Regions from separate parts of the Homo sapiens genome. Here region 2 is linked to region 1. Evidence: promoter capture Hi-C in human tissues and cell types (Jung and others, 2019). All regions are on one chromosome and are shown on one strand. Each heading gives the region's core, a stretch centred on a gene start or on the middle of the fragment in contact. The rest is flanking DNA. Distances are from core to core; before and after follow the strand shown.

Region 1 (4,852 bases), core at 1-2,500:
AAATGACAATGCTGCCTATAAGCCCAGCCCGGCCCATGGCAGGAGGAGCGGCAGCCCGGAAGCCTCACCTCCTCTGCTTAGCGGCCTGCTGCCCACAGCACAAGGCCCCGACTTCTCAGTCTGACTGGCAAGGCCTTTTCCACCAGGCCCACAGCTTGGTCCCAGGCGGGGGCTCAGCCCTTCCCTCGGGCCTGTGTGAATACTCCTCTCCCCTCCCGGCTCCACCTTTCCAGCTGGCCTGTCAGGAGGCCCCTATCCTGATGTCCCCAGCTCTCATCGAGTACCCCCTGCAGGAATCCACTGATTTCTCGCCTAACACCACCTGTGGTTTTATCTGGCTCCCCAGCCAGAGAGTACACTTCCCGGCGGTGGCCGAGCCTCCCCCGGGAAGACCTGCTGGATCTCCGCCTTCCCTCAGCGTGTCCCTTCCGCTCCTGGGAGCGCGCAGGTGCTCAGAGGTAGCTTGTGGGCCCAGGGAGCAGGAAAACACATATACAAACCCGCCCGCTGACCAGAAATGGGGGGAAAGAGGGAGGATGGGTGTATCTGTTCTGTGCCCTGGCCAATGACATGGCCTTCTGATCGGGGAGCGGATTGGGGAGGGAGAGTGGGCCCTCTCCTTGGCGGGAAGGGAGAGAGCTTCAGGAATTTCCTGGAGCCGCCTCGCGCTTCTCCAGCTCGTGGGGGACAGGCAGAAAATATTCAGATGCCCCCTTCCTGGCACCTGCTCTGGAGCCAGGCTGGGAGGAATGGAAAACCCCTGCGGCCTCCCTAACAGGTGCAGAGGGAAAGGGCCCCGACGGTGACGGATGGGAGTGTGCGCCGGCCAGGGCCTCAGGCCTTTGGAGGTATGGAGTTCCCGGGGGTGAAGAGAGGGATGAGGCCAGACTCTGGCTTGGAGTCGAGAGAAAGGGGTAGCGGCGCGGCCACCGATTCCAGGTAGGGCACTGCGGAAGCCCCACCCGGCACACGACTAGCGCACGGACGCGCATGCGTCCCGCCCGCCCAGGTGCGCACGCGCAGGAGCCGCGGCGCGACGGTCCACAAAGGCTCAGAAGGCCAGAAAACCCGGTACCACCAACCCTGGTGCAGCGGCATCTCCTACCTGATGCCGCCCGGCCCCGGCTGCGAGTCAGGAAGAGGATAAAGCCGACTAGCAGAGCCGCCGCTACCAAGTACCACACAGGCGCCACCATGACGAGGGCCTCAGTGCAGAACCACTGCGTCCACCCTGAGGCCGGGATCTCATAGGCCCCGCCCCTATTTCCCAATCTAGACTCCGCCCACTACTCGGAGCCCCGCCCAGCGGCACATCACAGAGAGGCTTTAATGTCAGACATTAAAATGAGTTTGGGGGGTGTAAAGAAACCCACAATGTTAAGAGGAAATTATAGCAGACGGTATGTCCAGTAGAAAACATCTATGTATGTTTTTTTTTTTTGAGACGGAGTCTCTGTCGCACAGGCTGGAGTGCGGTGGTGCGATCTCGGCTCACTGCAACCTCCACCTCCCAGGTTCAAGCGATTCTCCTGCCTCAGACTCCCGAGTAGCTGGGATTACAGGCGCCCGCCACCACGCCCGGCTAATTTTTGTATTTTTAGTAGAGATGGGGGTTTCACCGTGTTGGCCAGGCTGGTCTCGAACTCCTGACCTTGTGATCCACCCACCTTGGCCTCCCAAAGTGCTGGGATTACAGGCGTGAGCCACCGCGCCCGGACTATATATGTTTTAAAAATCACTAAACAATCCCACATAGTGTTTATGGAAACAACCGTGGAAAAAGTACGAAAAGAGGCTTGGGACTGATGCACACCAACTTCAGGATAGCGATTACCTCTAGGAGGAGGGAAGCGGGTTGGGGTTTTGCTGTATCTGTGACACTGAATTTCTTTCTTTCTTTCTTTCTTTTGAGGGGAAGGGGAGGGGAGGGGAGGGCAGTACTGGAATTTATTAAGCTTTTTGTATACATGATAACAGAAGTAAAGATTTATTTCAGGAGCCAGGCACAGAGGCTCGTCTGTTAACCCAATACTTTGGGAAGTCTAGGTAGAGGTGAGCCTAGGAGTTCAAGACCAGCCTGGGCAACATGATGAAACCCTGTCTCTACAAAATACAAAAATTAGCCAGGTGTGGTGGCATGCACCTGTGATTCCAGGTACTTGGGAAGATGAGGTGGGAAGATCACCTGAGCCCAGGGAGGTCGAGGCTGCAGTGAGCCATGATCATGCCAGTGCACTCCAGCCTGGGTGATAGAGTGAGACCCTGTCTCAGAAAATAAAAATAAATAAAAATAAATTCAGGACCAATGAACAATGGTGAGAAAGGGATTTGAAAAAATACGGGCCAGATGAGGTGGCTCTCCCCTGTAATCCTAGCACTTTGGGAGGCCGAGGTGGGCGGATCACTTCAGGTCAAGTGTTCAAAACCAGCCTAGCTGACGTGATGAAATCCTGTCTCTACTAAAAATACAAACAATGAGTGGGGCGTGGTGGCACATGCCTGTAATCCCAGCTACTCGGGAGGCTGAGGCAGGAGAATCACTTGAACCCAGGGGGCGGACGTTGCAGTGAGCCAAGATTGCACCACTGCACACCAGCCTGAGCGACAGAGCAAGACTCTGTCTCAAAAAAAAAAAAAAAAGAAAGAAAGAAAGAAAAAGAAAAAGAAAAAATATGGGCTGGGCGAGGTGGCTCACACCTGTAATCCCAGCACTTTGGGAGGCTGAGGTGGGTGGATCACCTGAACTCAGGAGTTTGAGACCAGCCTGACAAACACAGTGAAACCCTGTCTCTACTAAAAATACAAAATTAGCTTGGCGTGGTGGTGGGTGCCTGTAATCCCAGCTACTTGGGAGGCTGAGGCAGGAGAATCTCTCGAAGCCGGGAGGCAGAGGTTGCAGTGAGCCGAGATCACACTATTGCACTCCAGCCTGGGCAACAGAGTGAGACTCAGTCTCAAAAAAAAAAAAAAAAAAAAAAAAGCTGGGCACCGTGGCTCACGCCTACAATCCCAACCAACACTTTGGGAGGTCGAGGTGGGTGGATCACCTGAGGTCGGGAATTTGAGACCAGCCTGACCAACATGGAGAAACCCCATCTCTACTAAAAATACAAAATTAGCCGGGTGTGGTGGCTCATGCCCATAATCCCAGCACTTCGGGAGGCTGAGGCAGGCGGATCACGAGGTCAGGAGATCAAAACCATCCTGGCTAACACGGTGAAACCCCGTCTCTACTAAAAATACAAAAAAATTAGCCAGGCGTGGTGGTGGGCGCCTGTAGTCCCAGCTACTTGGGAGGCTGAGGCAGGAGAATGGTGGGGACCCGGGAGGCGGAGCTTGCAGTGAGCTGAGATCGCGCCACTGCACTCCAGCCTGGGCGACAGAGTGAGACTGTCTCAAAAAAAAAAAAAAAAGAAGAAGAAAGATACAAAAATTAACCAGGCATGGTGGTGCATGCCTGGAGTCCCAGCTACTCAGGAGGCTGAGGTGGGAGAACTGCTCGAACCCAATATGCAGAGGTTGCAGTGAGCCGGGACCACACCACTGTACTTCAGCCTGGGCAACAGAGCAAGACTCCATCTCAAAAAAAATAAATAAATAAAAGAATGAAAAAGAAAGTTATCTATGGACTTGTAATTATAGATGTCAGTTGTGATCTTTTTGTTTGTTGGTTTTTTGAGACAGGGTCTCACTCACATCACCCAGGCTAGAGTACAGTGGCACTCTTGGCTCACTGCAGCCTCGACTTCCCAGGCTCAGGTGATCCTCCCACCTCAGCCTCCTAAACAGCTGTGACTACAGGTGTGTGCCCCCAAGCCCAACTAATTTTTTGTATTTTTTGTAGAGACTGGGTTTCACCATGTTGTCTAGGCTTGTCTTGAACTCCTGGGATCAAGTGATCCACTGTGCCCAAGCTAGTTATCTTACATTACAGAACACCTACTATGTACCAGGAGCTGGGATTTAAGAATGAGAGGTGAGGCTGGGCACCGTGGCTCAAGCCTGTAATCTCAGCACTTTGGGAGGCTGAGGTGGAGGGATCTCCTGAGGTCAGGAGTTTGAGACCAGCCTGGTCAATATGGTGAAACCCCACCTCTACTAAAAGTACAAAAATTCACTGGGTGTGGTGGTGCATGTCTGTAATCCCAGCTACTCAGGAGGCTGAGGCAGGAGAATCCCTTGAACCCGGGAGTCGGAGGTTGAAGTGAGCCGAGATCGTGCCACTGCACTCAAGCCTGGGCGACAAGAGCAAGACTCCATCTCAAAACAACAACAACAACAACAACAAAACACAGTGGCTGATGCCTGTAATCCCAGCACTTAGGGAGGCCGAGGTGGGCATATCACGACGTCAGGAGTTCGAGACCAGCCTGGCCAACATGGTGAAACCCCGTCTCTACTAAAAATGCAGAAATTAGCTGGGCGTCGTGGGGGGTGCTTGTAGTCCCAGCTACTCAGGAGGCTGAGGCAGGAGAATCGCTTCAACCCAGGAGACAGAGGTTGCAGTGAGCCAAGATCATGCCATTGCACTCCAGGCCAGGTGACTAGAGCAAGACTCCGTCTCAAAAAAAAAAAAAAAAAAGAAAAAGAGAGGTGAGCAAAAACAGATATGGTTTTTACCATTAGGATTTTTAGAAGAGAAAACAGAATCACACAAATGAATATCTATTTGCAGTGCAGAGGTCAGTGCTATGCAAGCAGATGAAAGGGAGCTCAGGGAAGGTTTTCCTGAGCTGGGGCTTGAGCTGGCTAAGATCCAAGAAAGGCATCCATGTAAGGTGGGCTGTTTTTCTTCTTTTCAGGCTCCTCGGGGTAACTGATGTCCCCCAAGCCCTCCTCTGCCCCCAAATCC
Region 2 (4,883 bases), core at 503-3,002, 450 kb after region 1:
CAGGGAATCGAAACGACAGTGCTGGAGGAGACTCAGGAAGCAGAGGCGTCCCTGCCGCTGCCCTTGGCCCTGCAAGCACATCATGACCCTTTCTGGCAGCCTCTTGGTGCTCTGGGTAGTGAGGGATGACCAGTCTTGTCCTGAGAAATGTTTCTCTTAGTCTTTAAGTTCAAAGACTAACCTGTAGCAATCAGACTTTCCAAAAGGGGGTTCTCCATTTTTTGTAGTTTTGTCTAAATTTTTAATGACCATTTCCTGGAATCAGTTTATTATACTGAAAACTGGGGGTGGGAGTAGGGAGCTAGTTTGTTGATAAATAGTTCCCATTTCCCCATGGAGAATTTGACATACCCTGGACTCCTGTGTGCCTCCTGCCATCCCTGCACACAGCCTGGGGAGAAGCCTGTGCCTCCCCGTGTGGAGAGAAGGCAACCCCAGATCCCCTGAGCTAACCCGGAGGAAAGGCAGTCCTGGACAGAAGACTGTCAGCAGAAGGAAAGTACTGGACTACCCGTGGGTAAGTCCTGCCATTCAAGACTGGAGACACCTGGGAAATAAAAAGAGCAGGGCACTGCTGGTGGGAAGAGGCATTTTACCTTCCAGTGCAAATCCTGCTCCTTTGATTTAATGGGGTGTACTGGGGCCAGGGGCTGATTCACTTCCTTGGGAGATGGTGGTGTTTTCATGAACATCTTTGATCCTTCCATTTCATTTATTCATCCATCCATTCAACAAGTATTTGCTAAACACTAACTTAAGCTAATGCTAGGGTAGTGACTGAGATGTAAAAATAGATTTTAGAATTAAAACAAAATCCAAGTCCTCACACCCCTGTCATCCCAGGAGATCTTTCCTTGTGGTGGTTTCTGTGAGAATTGGCCATCCTGAGGACACAGCCAGGACGGCAGAGGCCTCCTGGCCTCAGGGCATGCCCTGCCTACCTTCTGAAATGTTTACCCCATTGACCAAACTTGGCTCCAGCCATTGCGGTGGTTTCTAGATAGCCAGGCCCACCAAGAGATATTGCCCCTTGATGAGAGTCAAACACCCTGCCTACAAGGAGATGTTTTGAAATGGAGAGGAAAATTGGCACCTCATCTTTTAAAGGCAGTAATGGAATTGATTTTCAGTAACTGAATTTGTGCACAAAACATTCTAAACACTAGTGAAGCCTGTTTCGTTGAACTAATTCTGGCTCTGGAAATGTTTTTGTTTTATAGTTATTTACGATTTCGTTTGTTTGGATTCAAGCTTAGTTTGTTAATATGTATAATTTAGCATCTATTACACTCATGTAAATATGGAGTAAGTATTGTAAACTATTTCATCGCGGGGATTGTGGGTGTTATACATACATTTAGGACTGCAATTTTTTGGTATTTTTTGTATTGTAAAATAACAGCTAATTTAAGCAGGAACAAGAGAACTAAGGGAGGTCTGTGCATTTTAAACACAAATGTGAAGAACTTGTATATAAACAAAAGTAAATACTATAATACAAACTTCCTTCTGAAATAAAAGTAGATCTGGTAAAAATGTGGCTTTTGTTCTGAGTGTTTCATTTTGATTTTGCATTGTTTTGCCTATATTTACATTTTGGTCATTAGAACCTTAAGGGAAAAAAAAAAGCGTTTACCAGTTTTCAGACTGCGTCAGAGGGAGCACTTGACAGTTAACGGAGGTGAGGGTGAAAACCCCTGGCAGGTACCTCAGACAGCCCTCCAGGCAGCTTGTGAGCCACAGACCTTCCACACAGCCTTTGTGTGCCTACAGGGCAGCTGGGCCCGTGGGGGCAGGGACAGATCTGAGCAGTGAGGTATGGACAGCCGTCTCACTGCTCCACTAACCACACCACTGTCTCCAGTGGTGCTGTTATCCCTCCACTTTGCGCTCTCCTCACAGGCTCCTGAATGTCCTCTAGGTTGTCTCCAAACTGCTAAATCTCAGGTGTGCTGACAGGTCTCAGCCGTGGCCAGTGTTTTCCTCGGCCTTGAAGTTTTGAGGAAGTTACTCCCATTGGCAAGGCCTTGTTTGGGGGCCTCCTGTGTGTCCTGCCCCCTTTTATTTGGCTCCTGCCCTCAGAATGGGTCAGAGTCATGTATTTCAGTGCAGAGTGCAGATTCCCAGTGCTAGCAGTTCCTTCCAGAAGGATGAGGTCATTGAAAGAAGGAGGAAACACAAGACGGTCACTCCTGTAGGGGAAGATGGCAGGGTACTAGGGCCAGGGCCTGAGGTGAGGGCAGGAGCCTGGAGGAGGCCTGCCTACCAGAGCTCAGGTCTGGCTTAGGGAGGGAAATGGCTGGACTAGTGGCTGCAAACAAGTTGAGAAGGACCTTGAAACTCTTCCAGGGAGGGTTATGAGAGCCACCAACAGTAACAGGATAGAAACCCTGTGATTTGGTGGTACTGTGGCAGAGACAATGCTGTGTTTACCAAACCTACTGGGCCCACAGCTCATCATTTCCCAGCCTCCCTGCAGTTAGGTTGGGACCAAGCTAAGCCATGGCCAAGGAAAGGTTGGAAGAAGTGATGGGCACCAATTCCAAACGTGGCACACAAATGCTCCCACAGGGGACTCTCCTACGGATCACATGTTAAAGACTGGAGGGACTGTGGGTCCCTGAGTCACCCCTTAGAGGCCGGCCGCCTGATCAGTAAGAGCTGTGCTGGCCTTTGCATCACTGGAAAGCAAACTCACTCTGCTGATCCACTGAGATTTGGGGCTTTGTTACACTAGTTAGCTTTTCTTATTCTCACTAATATACAAATCAGCACTTTGAAGTGCAGTGCACATGTAACCAAACCCTTAAGTACATGGCACTGGCTCAGCGTGTGGCCAGGTGGCGAGCAGTGATAAGACAGGTGCAGCTGGCAGGACAACTGAGGTCCCTGCCAGGCGGAGCAAAACATCTGGTAAGGCCGTTTCACTCGATAACTCGGAAAACAAACTCCATGTCTGCTGACTTTTTGACTTGAGGGGAATAAACAACAACAACAACAACAAATATGTGTTGATTGTTACTGGCTGCTTTTGGCGAGGCATCACGAGAAAAAGTTTACTTCAAGAAAGAATTAGCCAGTTTACAAGCAGAAGGGAAAAAGATGGAAAGATGTTAACCAGGGCCTTGCAATTCTGGAAAAGCCAACTGCTTCTAGTCTCCAACCAGTAAGAGGTGCAGGTGAGCAACAAAGGCCCCATGAGACTTAGTTGAACACAGTGACTGGGCCTCATGGTGACCATCCAATGAAGGGTGTGGTCTTCCCACTGGAGCATGGAAACTGCAAAGCCACCAGCTTGAGGGAGGGGCACGTGGTTAAGGAAGCAAAGAAAAAGCTGACATGAGAACTGTTTCCAGGAACAAACCATGAATGTAGTCACTGACCCTGGACCTGCCTGGAAATAAATAAAGATGTAGTAAATTTAAGAAACCATTAGCAAAGCCTTAAAAAAAAAAAAAAAAAAAAAAAAAAACGGTGGCAATTGAGGAAGTCTTAAATCCACCTTCAGGCAGGAAAATGGTTGTGAAAGCTGTGTCCAGCGAGGGCTTTACAAGCTCAGATGTGGGCCCAAGAGCAGAACTGGGCCTGAGCGAGGACTCCCCCCAGCCCAGGACAGGGCCCAGCAGGATTGCAAAAACACCGCAGAGCAGCAATTGCTGCATCTGCACCCGCTCCTTCCTGGGTAGGAGGGCCTAGGAGGGTGTCCTGCCTGTTCTCATCACTACCTGCTGGGTGGGAGGTGGATTAAGCTGTCTTGTTAATTCAGGATTGTGGACTTCAAAGAGCCACCTGAGGGAGGCTGCATCACCTGGAGGTCTGGGCGGGGTGTGACCTCGTATTGTCCCCCTAGGAGAGGGTGCCTGTGACCCATGTAGGAGAGGAAGCACAAAACTGGTTTTGGTGATCAGAATAGCAAACTGGGCCAGATGCTTACCACACATTTCCTCTTCCTGAGTCCACAGCTTCGACTGCATGGCCTGGGCCCGTGGCATCTACCCAGATGCCTTGGGACCAGCCCTCACCAATGATGTGTCATTTCAAGGCCATTCACAGTAACAGTGTCTCCTCCACTGTCTCCATCAACCTTGAAGGCTTATGGTGAAGATGGTAATACAACAGGATTGAAGGAGACTGGGTCCCTGAATGACTTTGTGGAACAGAGCACTATAGGCCAAAGGTAGTAGAATTAGGTATCTTGTTTTATGCTGCTTAAGTGAATTAATTAATTCTCTAGATTTATTCACCTAGTTATTCAACAAATTTTTATTGAGCACATCAGGGCTAGGGCATTGTGTCAGGATCAGAGATTTTGCAATGAACAAAACAGAAAACTCCATGTCCTCCAGGGGAGTTGATAATAAAATGTCAGATAAGCTCTGTGAAGAAAGGTAAAAGTAGGGTTAGGGGTAGAAAGTGCTGGGGGGATTGCTACTTAACATAGTGTGGCCAGGGGAAGCCATTCTGCTAAGGTGACAGCTGAGCAGAACGATGAGTGGAGGGGGCAGGAAGGAATGTGGAGGTCTGGGAGAAGAGCATTCCAAACAGGGATGGCAGGTGCAGAGGCCCTGAGGGGGCAGCATGCCTGGTAGGCCTGCTGGATATTTCTGAGAATGAAAAAGTCCATTCCCAGTTGTTTGCGTGGAGAACCTAACCCAGTTATAAACACAAAGTACTTGAGAGCTGGTTTAATATACAGCCAGCTTTCCAGCAGTGCAACTACTGTGTACATCAAGGGAAAACTGAACTTCGTTTTCCTTAAAACTTATCATCAGCTGGTCATCATTTTGACAAATTCTGTCAACAACAGCAGTGTCATTCCTGGCATCTGTATGGGTCACGTCTGAACAGACACACGCCCTGCAGCCCTGCAGGTACCAGCTGTA

The links. The method cuts DNA at HindIII sites, captures the fragments that hold promoters and counts their contacts. A contact is called where the count stands out against the background at its distance.
Region 2: a contact is called between a fragment that was not itself captured here and the fragment with the promoter of DDRGK1 in region 1, in 1 of the 25 tissues and cell types used here (small bowel).

What each region holds. Positions count from the first base shown.
Region 1 is chr20:3,203,432-3,208,283 of GRCh38, forward strand. DDRGK1 (DDRGK domain containing 1) reads right to left here and starts at 1,251. Exons shown (of 9, transcript NM_023935.3): 1 at 1,106-1,251. The coding sequence starts at 1,196. It also overlaps a transcript of ITPA not described here. RefSeq lists an enhancer at 943-1,162. The HindIII fragment of the contact is 17,154 bases long and covers 1-4,852 here.
Region 2 is chr20:3,649,583-3,654,465 of GRCh38, forward strand. ATRN (attractin) reads left to right here. Exons shown (of 29, transcript NM_139321.3): 29 at 1-1,536. Among named protein-coding and RNA genes, the nearest start is that of GFRA4, 11 kb to the right of the region's middle. The HindIII fragment of the contact is 6,966 bases long and covers 1-4,883 here.